Regions from separate parts of the Homo sapiens genome. Here regions 1, 2, 4 and 5 are each linked to region 3. Evidence: promoter capture Hi-C in 16 types of primary human blood cells and fetal thymus (Javierre and others, 2016). All regions are on one chromosome and are shown on one strand. Each heading gives the region's core, a stretch centred on a gene start or on the middle of the fragment in contact. The rest is flanking DNA. Distances are from core to core; before and after follow the strand shown.

Region 1 (2,700 bases), core at 1-2,500, 150 kb before region 3:
CTGAGGTCAGGAGTTTGAGACCAGCCTGGCCAACATGGGGAAACACCGTCTTTACTAAAAATACAAAAATTAGCCAGGTGTGGTGGCGTGTGCCTGTAATCCCAGCTACTCAGGAAGTTGAGGAAGGAGAATCACTTGAACCCAGGAGGCAGAGGTTGTAGTGAGCTGAGATCACGCCACTGCATTCCAGCCTGGATGACAGAGTGAGCCTCCATCCCAAAAAATAATAATAATTACTATTATTTATTTAAATAAAAATGGATGTCTATTTTAAACAAGGTATCTTATTGGAGCAGATATATATAAAATCTATTGTTCAGTTATGACCTTCATCTTTTTTTTTTTTTTTTTTGAGATAGGTTCTCACTCTGTTGCCCAGGCTGGGGTGCAATAGTGCAATCTCGACTCACTGCAACCTCCACCTCCCAGGCTTAAGCAATCCTCCCACTGCAGCCTCCAGAGTAGCTGGGACTACAGGCACGCACCACCATGCCCAGCTAATTTTTGTATTTTCTGTAGAGCCCGGGTTTTGCCATACTGTCCAGGCTGGTCTCAAACTCCTGAGCTCAAGCAATCTGCCTGCCTTGGCCTCCCAAAGGGCTGGGACTACAGGTGTGAGCCATTGCGCCTAGCCATGACCTTCATTTTTATGTCCAACTTTATTACTGCCAAACACTCTAATTAAGCCCATTTCTTTGCCACTTCCCAAAAAAGTCTTAAATCTGGCACACTATAAATGACAATTACCTACTATCTACATTCAATACACAGTTTCCAAAATAAAGCTAACCTCTGGAGAAAAAAACTAGTAAGAATCAACATGAAATGGATGAGATCAGCAGAAATCTCTACTCCTGAGAATGGGTCATAGATATGTCACTCATGAAGCCTTAGGAGACACCCAGTACAAGATGACCAGGGGTGGCGGTATAAGGAAATCTTTCAAGGTTGCTATCCCATCAATGGTGATATAATCATGTTGGACTGTACTTGTTCCTTTTCTGTGTTTCTCCAACACAGAAGAGGCCTGGCAAATGGTGACCCTCCAAAGAGCCATTCTAGAACTGAATGTTGAGATGGAACTAAAAGGACAGATATCAAGATTCCAAAGTAACCATGAGGACATAGAGACCAGAGACCTCTGCAGAAAGAAGCTGGCTGTGGTCTGCAAAATGCCAGGTGCTGGGAAGCTGTCCCATATGACTACCCACAGCAGAGATGCAGCTTCCTAGGAAAAGAAACTATAAAAGCAACAAGTCCAGCAAGGAAATTTCAAATGCCAGAAACCACCTCAGAATAAAAAAAAGTTCACTTGCATCACCTACCAGACCCACCCAAAGACACCAGCTCCAACCACCTGCCAGGTTCAGAGGACATAAAGCCACCCAGCCAATTAAGAAATGTCCTGTGCCTTCATTCTCCTTCCTGTCCTCACTGCAACTCTGACAGGCTCCAGAAAGCAGCTGGAGAGGGAGGGAGAAGAGGAACCAGGAAAGGGTATAGAGCAGAAAGACCATGGCAGCCTTCCAGTGGGGAAGGGGTCTGAGCTGGGGAATGCAAAAAGATACAACTGGTGGCCAGGTGCGGTAGCTCATGCCTGTAATCCCAGCACTTTGGGAGGCCGAGGTGGGTGGATGACTTGAGGTCAGGAATTCGAGACCAGCCTGGCCAGCATGGTGAAATGCCGTCTCTACTCAAAATACAAAAATTAGCCAGGTGTGGTGGCGCACACCTGTAGTCCCAGCTACTCAGGAGGCTGAGGCACGAGAATCTCTCGAACACAGGAGGCAGCAGTTGCAATGAGTCGATATCACACCACTGCACTCCAGCCTGGGTGACAAGGCAAGATCCTATTACAAAAAAAAAAAAAAAATACTTGGACAGTGTCCTTTGGCGCCTGGCACAGAGTAGGTACCAATTAATGACAGTGATCATTATTACTGCTCCTTTGTTAGGGACAAAGGAAGCTAATGAGGCTTTCTCATTTCTTGGATGGTCCATTGCTCAAGTGTTTACTGTAATTCTAAGCTCACTAAGCAACCTCATGATTCTAATGCCATTCTCTGTCTAACCTGATCATCAGGACTAGGTACCCTGAGCAATAAACATCAGTACTCCTGTTCCCATGCAAAGACACCAACAAGTTGGTTTTTTATTATAAGCATGAATCTCCTATGTAGGTCAATGCCATTCGGTTCATTAAAGTTTTACTGATTCTTTGTGAACTGAAAAAACTGACTAGATATTGAAGAATGAGGACTGCAGCAGAGGTCTGACCCTTGAGAGGCCCTGCCTGAACAGTCAGGCTCCCTCCTGGGTGTGCCTCTCTTTTTAATTACACGTGATCACATGAAGGCACTGAGAAATCCCGAAGCATCCTCTGAAACAAAGGAAGCATCGACTAGGTCTGCTCTCAGTTTTTCTTAATGTATTTCATTACAAGCCTCTGGGAATTCGTCATCCATAGATGGTGTATGGAGAGATACTTCATCGCTCGGGAGACCTTTTCAACCAGAACACCTGCTCTCTACCACATCGGGTCATGGAGGACTACAACAGTGATTCCAGGCCGGGCGCGGTGGCTCAAGCCTGTTAATCCCAGCACTTTGGGAGGCCGAGGTGGGAGGATCACGAGGTCAGGAGATCGAGACCATCCTGGCTAACACACTGAAAACCCGTCTCTACTAAAAATACAAAAAA
Region 2 (2,700 bases), core at 191-2,690, 220 kb before region 3:
AATGCAGCATTTGTTACGAGTTCATCATCTTAGCGTGGTAGTTAATGGAATCTCTGTAACAGCTGTATTCTGATACTGTGGCGGTAGTACTAACAGCTGGCTGCCAGTGATTAAGATGGCCTTTTGGAAGACTCTTGTAGAAGCTTTACCAAAAGCATCCAGATCTCTCATTTTAGAGAATTTTTCCTTCACAGTGCACAAAGCTTATTCCTTTAATAATGTCTAATCTAAACTGTAAGCCCTATGACAAGGGACCATGTCTTTTCTTGCTTACCATTATCTAGCACAATAATGCCCGAATCAGAGCGCACCTTCAATACAATTTTTTTCAACTAGTTTGTTTAATAAAGAAAATAGGCTGGGCATAGTGGCTAACACACGCAATCCTAGCACTTTGGGAGGCTGAGATGGGCACATTGCTTGAGCTAAGGACTTCGAGACCAGCCTGGGAAACATGGCAAAACTCCATCTGTACAAAAATTACAAAAATTTGCCAGGCATGGTGGCTGCGCCTACAGTCCCAGCTACTCGGGAGTCTGAGGTGGGAGGACCACTCAAGCCTCGGAGCTGGAGGTTGCAGTGAGCCGAGATCACACCACTGTACTCCAGCCTGGGTGATAGAGACCCTGTCTCAATCAATCAATCAATCAAATGGAGATTTCCAAATAAAAATGGTTGACTAGACACACACTTTTAATTTCATTCCCTCCTGAAATCCCATAAAATGACAGCAAGGTGGTTTTTTTTTTTATGGCATAGATTCCTGAAGAAAAACAAAATGATAAGGAAAACAAAAAATTTCGGAAGTTGCAAAGTTAACAGATGGGTGGCAAATGACTTAGTTGATGTGAGAAAGCTGAGTTCTAAGAAGCAGCGGGAAAGCAGAAAAGCAACTCAACGTTCACTGCAGCTTGCACAAGATGCTGCAGAATTTGGTGGCGCACAGAACTCTGGCAGTGGGTGTAAAGAAGGGGCTGAAAGGGAAGTGGTTGCCAGTTTTGTAGGAGGCAACTGAAGACCCAAATCATCACTGTGCACAAGCAAGAAACTGACGTTCTCCTACCCCAGCAGCAGCTGAGTATTGTCCAAAGAAACTTAACAGTAGATCATTAGACTAGGGGAGAGCAGGCATGAACGAGGGTAAGAGTACCGCCCTCTAGCAGATTCCTGAACTTCTCAACTTCATCTATCCCTTGCCCCACCTGCACAGGGCTCTGACCAACAGTACACCTCACCTCCTTCCATGTGACTTCCTGCTCTAGAATTTAACTGTTGGAGTCACTGTGGAACTCTTCTCAGCACCCATATCACACACGTGCAACCCAAAAGGTAGAGCAAGTTAGGACCAGTGGGACAAATTTTGGACTACGGAGAAAGCAGGGCCCATGGATCAATTTTCTCCCCTTCCTTACCTGGAAGGAATGATTCCGAGTGCAGTATGTGCTTCTCAGGGGCAGGGTCCTGAGGATGAACCAATCACTCCCACTTAACACTCAGCTCAGTAACATCATCGCATTGCCCTCCTTCCTTCCCTGGTTCACTCCCCTACTCCTCCCTCCAACCCTCTAGGACTGCACTCCCTAACAGAATCACAGCACAGATGCCTCTGTTTCCATTTCTGTTTTCTGTGGAAGCCAGGTTAAGATCGTTGGTACCAGGAGTGGCGCTAAAGAGCATTATTCACCTGATGGCAATAAAAGCCCCATTGCTGGTGGTAAATCCCCATTAAAATTAATATCACCTGCTTTATCACCAGCACTCAACACCTAAGTGAGAAACAGAGGCCCTACTCTGAGAAGAAATAGCTTATATACCAAGAGAAGCAGCAAAGGCTAGGGTGTACTGTCAAGAACTGGGTAAGTGGCCAGGCACGGTGGCTCATACCTGTAATCTCAGCACTTTGGGAGGCTGAGGTTGGAGGATCACTTGAAGTCAGGAGTTCAAGACCAGCCTGGCCAACATGTTGAAACCCCGTCTCTACTAAATATACAAAAATTAGCTGGGCGTGGTGGTGCACACCTGTAATCCCAGCTACTCAGGAGGCTGAGGCAGGCGAATTGCTTGAATCCAAGAGGCAGAGGTTGCAGTGAGCCGAAATTGCACCACTGCACTCCAGCCTGGGTGACAGAGTGAGACTGTCTCAAAAAACAACTGCCCCCTCAGACAGGATAGTAAGTCTGAAGCAACACCATCATCTTGGAAAAACTGTAGAGATCAATGCCCCATAAGACCAAGGAGTTTTCCCCATCATAATCCCCACCACCACCATTTAATTCACCGTTCTGACCCCTGAAAAAAAAAAAAACAGATAAATCATGGTAGATGGTAGGGGACTACCAGGAACTTAACCTGACAGTAGTTCCAACTGCAGCTGCCTTGCTGAAACTGGTATCTACACAGGATCAACATGGCTCCAATCAGTATCTGATATTGATGCACACCAATAAGCAGCCACTGAGAGAAAGCTCACAACAAGCAGGTAGGTATTATGAGTTATTGGATTTCAGCCAGCCTGTCCCTTTGTTACCCCAATACTGGTTCCACTGACCCATGAACAGGACATTGTAGGAATGATGGAGGCTATGCATGAACAGAAGAGCTTTGGTTCTCACTCACAGGCAGAATTCATCACTGCCACTGTTGAAGACCTGATCTACCAGCAACAATGATCAATGCTAAAGCTTCTGATAAGGCACAATT
Region 3 (2,700 bases), core at 55-2,554:
CCTTCAGGCAGGGAGGCAACAATGGCAAGGCCCCTTCCCCCTCCCTCCCCATCCTCTCACACCTGTGGTCCTGCCTGTTTGAAAGCAGGAGGTCCTGGAGCCTGCAGAATCCCCTTCCACTCCCTTCCTGGCCTCCTGCCAGGGGGACTTCAACTCTATGACCAGCAGTGAGAGGCCATCTTTGTCCCTGCCCATGCTCTGTCCCCATCTCACACCCCTAGACAGGGCCCAGCTCTCCCTTGCTCCAGTGCCAAGAGAAACCAAGCACTTACAAGGCATTAGAAGCAGGGGTTTTAGGACCAGGATTGGTGAGGGAAGATTGGATGTTAGGGAGTTTAGGGAGAGAGAGTTTTCAATGGCTGGGTCCGGAAGGAGCACAGAAATATAGCACTACAGCCATCATCACCACCACCATCACCATCATCACTACCACCATCACCACCATCACTATCACCATCATCTTCTTCTACCTTTGCACCCAGGCCTAAAGACCCCATTACTGTATTGCAATACAACCTTTCCTCTTAGAGAGTCTGCTGTCTACGAGATGATGAATGGGATGGGGGAAGCGTGAAGGAGCCCAGGTCTAAGAAGGATCTCCGTGGGGCTGTTTTTCCCGGGGGATGCAGAAGCCCCTTTCTGTCCAGGGATACAGCCCTGGGCATTCTCCAATCCCATCCGTCGGCTCCAGGGGCCCTGGCCCGCCGCTCCCTCCCTCCGCCTGCGGTCGCCTTTGTAACAGGTCCATGGCTGTCGCCCCAGTCCTCGCCAGCCTGGCAGCCGGGCCCCGCGCGCGGAGGGAGGGCGCCCGGGAGAGAGAGGCTGGCTCGCTGGGCTCGGGTGCCCGCTTCCCGGTCCCCTCCCTCCCCCGTCGCCCCTAGCTGGGCGCCTCTCCCCAGCGTGGAGAGCCAGCTGAAAAGGCGAAGGCCCGCCGCAGCCCCTCTACCTCTTTGCAAGCGCTGCGCTGGGCCTCAGTCCGAAAGGCGGATCGCCGGCGCAGACAGCGCCACGGCCATGACGCTCCTGCTGCTGTCGCCGCCGCTGTTTCTGCCCAAGACAGGTTGACAGATTAGCAGCTATTTTTAAGCCATGACACACACGTCGAAGCAGGGTTCAAATCAGCGTGTGCGCTGGTGACATAAAGGGACTCGGTCTCACATTCGGTGGCCCGAGTCGCCAGGCAGCGTGGGCTCCCCAGCCAACCCCCCACGAGCCCGCGCGCCTTGCAGACCAGACACGGCCCCGCCGAGCCCCAGCAGCACCGCCTGGAATGCATGCGTGTGTTCTCAGAGCTGCACCAATTACAAAGCGTTTTGCCTAAAGATTACATTATAAGTCATCCCAGGCACTGTCTTAAACACACACACTCCTCCCAGACAGAATTAACTAATTACATAGACACGATTCTGTGCACTGGCTTGTACATGCCTCGGTCTCAAGAAACCGTGTCATAAAGAACAATGGTCCGAAGCCCCCATTAGCCTTCATTATATGCCATGTGCTTCATTTAGCTTAAGGCATTTTATACTCCCCACAAGTCTATGAGGGAGACATAATTACTATTGTCCTAATTTTAGGGAGGAGGCGACCTAGGCACAGAGAGGCTAGGTACTCTGCCCTGGTCACACAGCTCGTTACTGGCAGAGCTGAGCTTGTTCAAACAATGCAGCCTGGCTTTGCAGTTTATGTCCTTAACCACTCTCTAAACCAGTGCCTCCCACAAAATGGAGAAGGCACCATGGATTTCCTTCATTCAGGAAGCCATTTCCACCAGCTCAGCTCATAGTGAACTTCACTTTCCCCAGACTCTCAAAACATTCATCTTCATATTTCTTTCTTTCTTTTTTGAGATGCAGTCCCACTCTGTCGCCCAGGCTGGAGTGCAGTGGCGCAATCTTGGCTCATTGTAACCCGCCTCCCAGGTTCAAGCCATTCTCCTGCCTCAGCTTCCCAAGTAGCTGGGATTACAGGCGCCCGCCTCCATGCCTGGCTAATTTTTTGTATATATTTTTTCTTTGTTTGTTTGTTTTTTAGTACAGATGGGGTTTCACCATGTTGACCAGGCTGGTCTTGAACTCCTGACCTCAGGTGATCCACCCACCTTCTCTCAAAGTGCTCAGATTACAGGCATGAGCCACTGTGTCCGGCCATCTTCATATTAATTTCTCATGTGCTGCCTTCTAGTGACATATTCACTTGATCGGCATTTTTATTGTAAGCACCAAGATTGTAAGCACTTTGAAGGCAGGGACTGTGCTACCTTCCCCAGTGCCTACCTTATTGTGTGAGAGGGAAGTGGGGGAGATGATAAATGTTAGCAGATGATGCTGTTGAGAACTAGGCTGGCTTGAACTCTCGCTGTCTACTAGAAGAAAGGCAGAAAGTAGATTGGCTCAGATTGAAGCTGATGGTGTCAGCTATAGCTGAAACCAGGACTGACTCCATTCCCAGCAGTGGTGGCAGATCAGGTTTTGATCTCTGGGTTAGAGAAAGTACTGGCCAATGTGACCAATCCCCAGGTTCCATGACAGGCTGCCATCCAAGTTTAATGTACCGCCTAGCCTTTTTTTTTCTCTAGAGAAACAAAATTCTTTTCACTTTTCCTTGTCCCTTGTGTTACAGCAGTTTAAATATGAAATGAAATCCTTGTCATTTAAAACAAAGAGGCAGGGCATGGTGGCTCACACCTGTAATCCCAGC
Region 4 (2,700 bases), core at 54-2,553, 200 kb before region 3:
CAAGAGTTCAAGGCTGCAGTGAGCAATGACTATACCACCGCATCCCAGCCTGCGTGGGAGAGTGAGAGCCTGTCTTTTAAAAAATTTTTTAAATAAAAAATAAATTTATAATGGGTTAATTTTATATTATTTATATCTAAAGTAAGACGAACTCTGTCCCAAAACACCCTATCCTGTAGAGACTGGGGTTCAAAGAAGGAACAGAATGGACCCCAAAATAAGAGGTGAAAATCCCCACGTACACTCCAGTCATGCCAAGGGCAGCCTGACAGGCAAGGCTTCTTGCTTCCTGTCTCAACTTATCCCTGTCCTGCAAAGCTGTGGCAGGACACATCTGCAGCTCAGCACAGCAGACAGGCACAGGAGCACAGGAACAAAAACACAACATGGGTAAGAAAATGAAGGTTCCAGGCCGGGCGCGGTAGCTCACACCTGTAATCCTAGCACTTTGGGAGGCCAAGGCAGGCAGATCACCCAAGGTCAGGAGTTTGAGACCAGTCTGGCCAACATGGCAAAACCCCGTCTTGACTAAAAATACAAAAATTACTCAGGTGTGGTGGTGCATGCCTGTAATCCCAGTTACTTGGGAGGCTGAGGCACAAGAATCACTTGAACCCGGGAAGCGGAGGCTGCAGTGAGCCAAGATCACACCACTGCACTCCAGCCTGGGTGACAGAGTAAGGCTCTGTCTCAAAAAAAAAAAAAAAGAAAAAGAAAAAGAAAATTCGGGTTCTCAGAGAGGAGTCTCATTATACAAAGTTTGGGAGTGTGGGATGTGCTTGGATAGGTGAGTTCACAAAGCTTTCAGCTGCTACGGGCTTCATACCACAACGTGGAAAGACTTCCCCACCATGTGGAGAAATGGCAGAGTAAAAGGACATCTTCAGTAACAAGTTGAACTGCTGAACAAAACAGGTCTGCCTGCCCCAGATTTCTGACTAATTTAATAAATAAATGCCTTTATTGCTAAGCCACTTTGGGTCAAGTTCTTGATGGATGCAGCCTAATGCATTTAAATGACAATGGCAGGTCTCATCACATTTGGAAAGTCTGCATACTGGTGTTAAAAAAAAAAAGAAAAGAAAAGAAAACTATTCCATTTAATAGCATCAAATATGAGAAAGTACCAAATGGGTACAATGTATGTTATTAAGGCGATGGAAAACCTAAAGCCCTGACTTGTATGTAACAAAACTACACTTGCGCCCCATAAATTTATACAAATAAAATTTAAAGTTTCATCACAACAACAACAAAAAAAGAAGCAGAGTTGTAGATGAGACCTTTCCTGCTCTTTTTTCTATACATGATAATTTGCTACTGCCAACAGGACTCTGGAAAGTGAATACTTTTGCAGGAAGAACTTTCCAAATTGCTCAAGTCTTCATGTTGCTCCCTATCCAGTGATCTCGTGGCTTTTTGTATGGATCTGAACTATAATATTGATCATACTCAACTGTAGTTATGTGTGCACCTGTTTAGCTCCCCACCAGACCAGAAGCCCTCCTATCATCCATGTCTCTTTCATCTTGGCCCACAAAATTCTCCTTGGCAGGAGAATCACTTGAACCCGGGAGGCAGAGGTTGCAGTGAGCCGAGATTGTGCCACTGCACTCCAGCCTGGACAACAGAGCAAGACTCCGTCTCAAAAAAAAAAGGAAAAATAGGTGAAGCAAATTGATCACAAAACCACTACATCGTCTTAAGAACTTTCTCCTGCCTCATTTACTCAGACAAGTATGGCAGTTTTAATTACTTACGATGGTAGACTAGTAAGTGGCACTACCACCTCATTAAAAAATGATGAAGCTTAGCAACACTTTGGCATTCAGTTATTCTTTACAAAAAAAAAAATAGTCGATGATTCAAGAAATTAGTGAGTTGTAAAAATGGGAATGAAATATTAAGGAAATACTAAAGAACTCAACTTTTAACCTGACCTTTGGTATGAAAGAGATCTTTTAGTTGCAGGTAATTTCTTGATTATTCCAAGCTGATCACATTTTAATTAGTGTTTATTATATAGAAACATCTTATCAGTCAGTCATGGGGAAACACTCAGATTCATTCTAACTCAGAGCTCGTGTGAAGTCTATTAAATTATAACTGCCAAATAAATCAACAAGCCAAGTGTCCTAAGCTTTTCTGAGAAGTTTTATACCAATCAAATGTATAAGTAAATAATAAATAAAATTTTGTTAAAAGCAGAGCAAAGTCCCAGTTTGTGATTTGAGCTTACAAAATTTAATTAACTATGTTTACTTTGTTTCCAATTTTTCCCATTAAAAAAGTTCAAACTTGGAGGGAAAACTGGTATAGCTTTTTCAGAGACCAAGTTAGTAGTACGTAGTAAATTTTTAATTTAATTCACCCATTAACACAGCAACTCAAATTTCTAGATATTAGATAGAGAAATAATCGCACATATGAGGAGAGACAGATAAATATGTTCATAGTAACACAACAAAAAACAGAAGTAGCCTTAAAAAACTATTGACAGCAGAATGGTTAAATAATTTTAGTTATAGCCATACTATAGAATCAACATAGCTTTAAAAATAATGAAGTCAATAGATATATTCTAACATGAAAAAAAAAATCTTCAAAATCCACTTAAATGGAAAAACAAATATATATCTATGGTATGATTCAGTTAAAAAAATACATAAAATTACAGGCTGAATTCAATTGTACATAAAA
Region 5 (2,700 bases), core at 42-2,541, 130 kb before region 3:
GCACACATTCCTTTATATTTTTTAGCATTAATACTATAAAATTCCTTGACTGCACACAGTGGCTCATGCAGGTAATCCCAACAGCTTGGGAGGCCAAGGTGGAAGGACCCACCTAGGCAACACAGTAAGACCCCATCTCTACAAAAAATAAATTAGCCAGGCATGGCGGTGAGTGTCTGTAGTCCTAGTCCTGGGAGGCTGAGGCAGGAGGATTGCTTCAGCCCAGGAGATTGAGGCTGCAGTGAGCCGTGATTGTGCCACTGCACTTAGCTTGGGTGACAGAGCCAGGCCTGGTCTCAAAAAATAAAAAATAATTTTAAAAAAAGAAATACTATAAAATTACCACCAGACAATACCAACACTCACAGGTTACCTGCCTAAACCACAGAAAACATATGTAGTACAGTTGTCAGCTAGTATATCAGAGAAAAAAGGAATACAAATCTATAAGAACCTGTAAAGTACCTTTGCTCCTACTTAGTAGATGCTTGTAGCTATTAACCACACACAACATGGAGCTAGCACTTTGGGTCCCAATCCTGGTTCTTTTACTTAATATAAATTTAGACAAGTTACTGAATCTTTCTAAGCCTCAGCTTCTTCATAGTAAATAATAAATGTTAACTATCACTATTTCTTTCCCTTGCATAACAGAAAGATTACCAAATTTTCATTTAATGTGCAGAAGCAATTTATTATAGTTATCATTAACGTAACCCAGATTATGTAGTAAAATAATATCACCTACTAAAATGGGAATAAAACTATACTGTTTTCAAAAATGTTTAGATATATCACTCTACTCAACCTTATTTATAACCACTTTGAAAAGTAGGCAAGGTAGGTATTATTATTCCCAGTTCCCAAGGAAGCTGAGCCTTCTCAAGTTTAAGTGATTTGCCCAAGATCATATATATATATATATACACACATACATACATATATATATAGAGAGAGAGAGAGAGAGAGTTGTTGCTGTTGTTGCTTTTGTTGTTGTTTTCAGACAGGGTCTCGCTCTGTTGCCCAGGCTGGAGTGCAGTGGCGCAATCTCGGCTCACTGCAACCTCCGCCTCCTGAATTCAAGCGATTCTCCTGCCTCATCCTCCCGGGTAGCTGGGACTACAGGCGCGTGCCACCACACCCAGCTAATTTTTCTATTTGTAGTAGAGACAGGGTTTCACCATGTTGGCCAGGCTGGTCTCAAACTCCTGAATTATCTTGAACACCTCAAATGATCCACCTGCCTCGGCCTCCCAAAGTGCTAGGATTACAGGTATGAGCCACTGCACCCGGCCACAGGATCATATTTTTTAAAGACAGAAGTGAGTCTAGATATCAGCTCACTCAACTCAAAGATGTGTGGAAAGCAGATAAATGAAGGAACATAGTGACAGCTTGTGAAAAGTACAGAAATAATCAGTAATAAAGGAAAACAAAAGATACAATTTGAGGACAGAGTTTGGGATATTTTTATAGCTACTGCATAGCTCAGGTCTATCATAGGAGCTTTTTGGGACCTTCGCATAGCTTTATGAACTATGACAGAAGAATTTTAAGATTATGAATTCCCTTATATTTAAAGAATCTCAACCTAGGCTATCTTCCCAAAGCCAGAAGTGTAGTAGGTCTCAGGGAACAACGTATGGTTAAGTAACTACCACTAAAGAACAGAGCCAGCCAGGTGCGGTGGTTCTGGGAGACTGAGGCAGGAAGATCCCTTGAGCCCAGGGGTTCAAGACTAGCCTGGGCAACAAAACAAGACTCCGTCTCTACAAAAAAAATTTTTTTTAATTTAAAAATTAGCTGGGCATGGTGGTGCATGTCTGTGGTCCCAGCTACCTGGAAGGCTAAAGCAGGAGAATCACCTGAGCCCAGGAGTTCAAGGCTGCACTGAGCCATGATTATGCCACTGTACTCCAGCCTGGGTAGCAGAGTGAGACACTGTCTCAAAAAAGAAAACAAAAGAAGGAAAGGAAAGAGAAAGGAGAAGGGAAGGGAAAATGGAAGGAGAGAGAAAAGAAGGGCAGGGCAGGGAAGGGGAAAGAAGGGCAGGGCAGGGCAGGGCCCAGCCAGGGTAGATAGTAGTATTGTGACTTAGAGCATACAACCATTATCCAGGCCTCAGGGTACATTTATAACAGTAACAGTCAATCTAATACTGTATATGGTATTAGTTACCCAGGAGCCTGACATCAAGTCAGCAGTCCTCCAACTGGTGGGACAGGCAGACTTGCAGAGAGCACTATGAAGGACAGCAGGCTCCAATTCAATAGAATAGACCAAAAGAGAACAGTAAGGGAGAAAGGGACACTGGCAGCCATGTCAATCAAGACTGGTGATTAGGCCGGGCATAGTGGCTCACACCTGTAATCTCAGTACTTTGAGAGGCCAAGGCGGGTGGATCACCTGAGGTCAGGAGTTCGAGACCAGCCCGACCAATATGGTGAAGCCCTGTCTCTACTAAAAATACAAAAATTAGCCGGGTGTGGTGGCAGACTCCTGTAATCCCAGCTACTTGGGAGGCTGAGGCAGGAAGGATTGCTTGAACCCAGGAGGCAGAGGTTGCAGTGACCTGAGATCGTACCACTGCACTCCAGCCTGGGCTACAGAGCGAGACTCTGTCTCAAAAAAAACACACAAAAATTAGCCAGGCATGGTGGCATGCACCTGTAGTCCCAGCTACTCGGGAGGCTGAGGCAG

What was found. The method cuts DNA at HindIII sites, captures the fragments that hold promoters and counts their contacts. A CHiCAGO score of 5 or more calls a contact.
Region 1: a fragment that was not itself captured here is called in contact with the fragment with the promoter of DUSP26 in region 3 in 2 of 17 cell types (non-activated CD4 T cells and monocytes); the score reaches 6.3 in non-activated CD4 T cells.
Region 2: a fragment that was not itself captured here is called in contact with the fragment with the promoter of DUSP26 in region 3 in 1 of 17 cell types (non-activated CD4 T cells); the score reaches 5.5 in non-activated CD4 T cells.
Region 4: a fragment that was not itself captured here is called in contact with the fragment with the promoter of DUSP26 in region 3 in 2 of 17 cell types (neutrophils and non-activated CD4 T cells); the score reaches 6.6 in neutrophils.
Region 5: a contact is called between a fragment that was not itself captured here and the fragment with the promoter of DUSP26 in region 3, in 1 of 17 cell types (monocytes). The highest score is 5.3, in monocytes.

The regions. Positions count from the first base shown.
Region 1 is chr8:33,444,600-33,447,299 of GRCh38, forward strand. The region is part of intron 3 of POFUT3 (protein O-fucosyltransferase 3); the gene reads right to left. Among named protein-coding and RNA genes, the nearest start is that of POFUT3, 27 kb to the right of the region's middle. The HindIII fragment of the contact is 3,773 bases long and covers 1-2,700 here.
Region 2 is chr8:33,381,655-33,384,354 of GRCh38, forward strand. All of the region lies in intron 4 of POFUT3 (protein O-fucosyltransferase 3), which reads right to left. Among named protein-coding and RNA genes, the nearest start is that of POFUT3, 90 kb to the right of the region's middle. The HindIII fragment of the contact is 2,478 bases long and covers 202-2,679 here.
Region 3 is chr8:33,598,719-33,601,418 of GRCh38, forward strand. It overlaps DUSP26 (dual specificity phosphatase 26), which reads right to left and starts at 1,305. Exons shown (of 4, transcript NM_024025.3): 1 at 947-1,305. The HindIII fragment of the contact is 17,028 bases long and covers 1-2,700 here.
Region 4 is chr8:33,403,646-33,406,345 of GRCh38, forward strand. The region is part of intron 3 of POFUT3 (protein O-fucosyltransferase 3); the gene reads right to left. Among named protein-coding and RNA genes, the nearest start is that of POFUT3, 68 kb to the right of the region's middle. The HindIII fragment of the contact is 1,008 bases long and covers 800-1,807 here.
Region 5 is chr8:33,464,481-33,467,180 of GRCh38, forward strand. The region is part of intron 1 of POFUT3 (protein O-fucosyltransferase 3); the gene reads right to left. Among named protein-coding and RNA genes, the nearest start is that of POFUT3, 7.3 kb to the right of the region's middle. The HindIII fragment of the contact is 8,691 bases long and covers 1-2,700 here.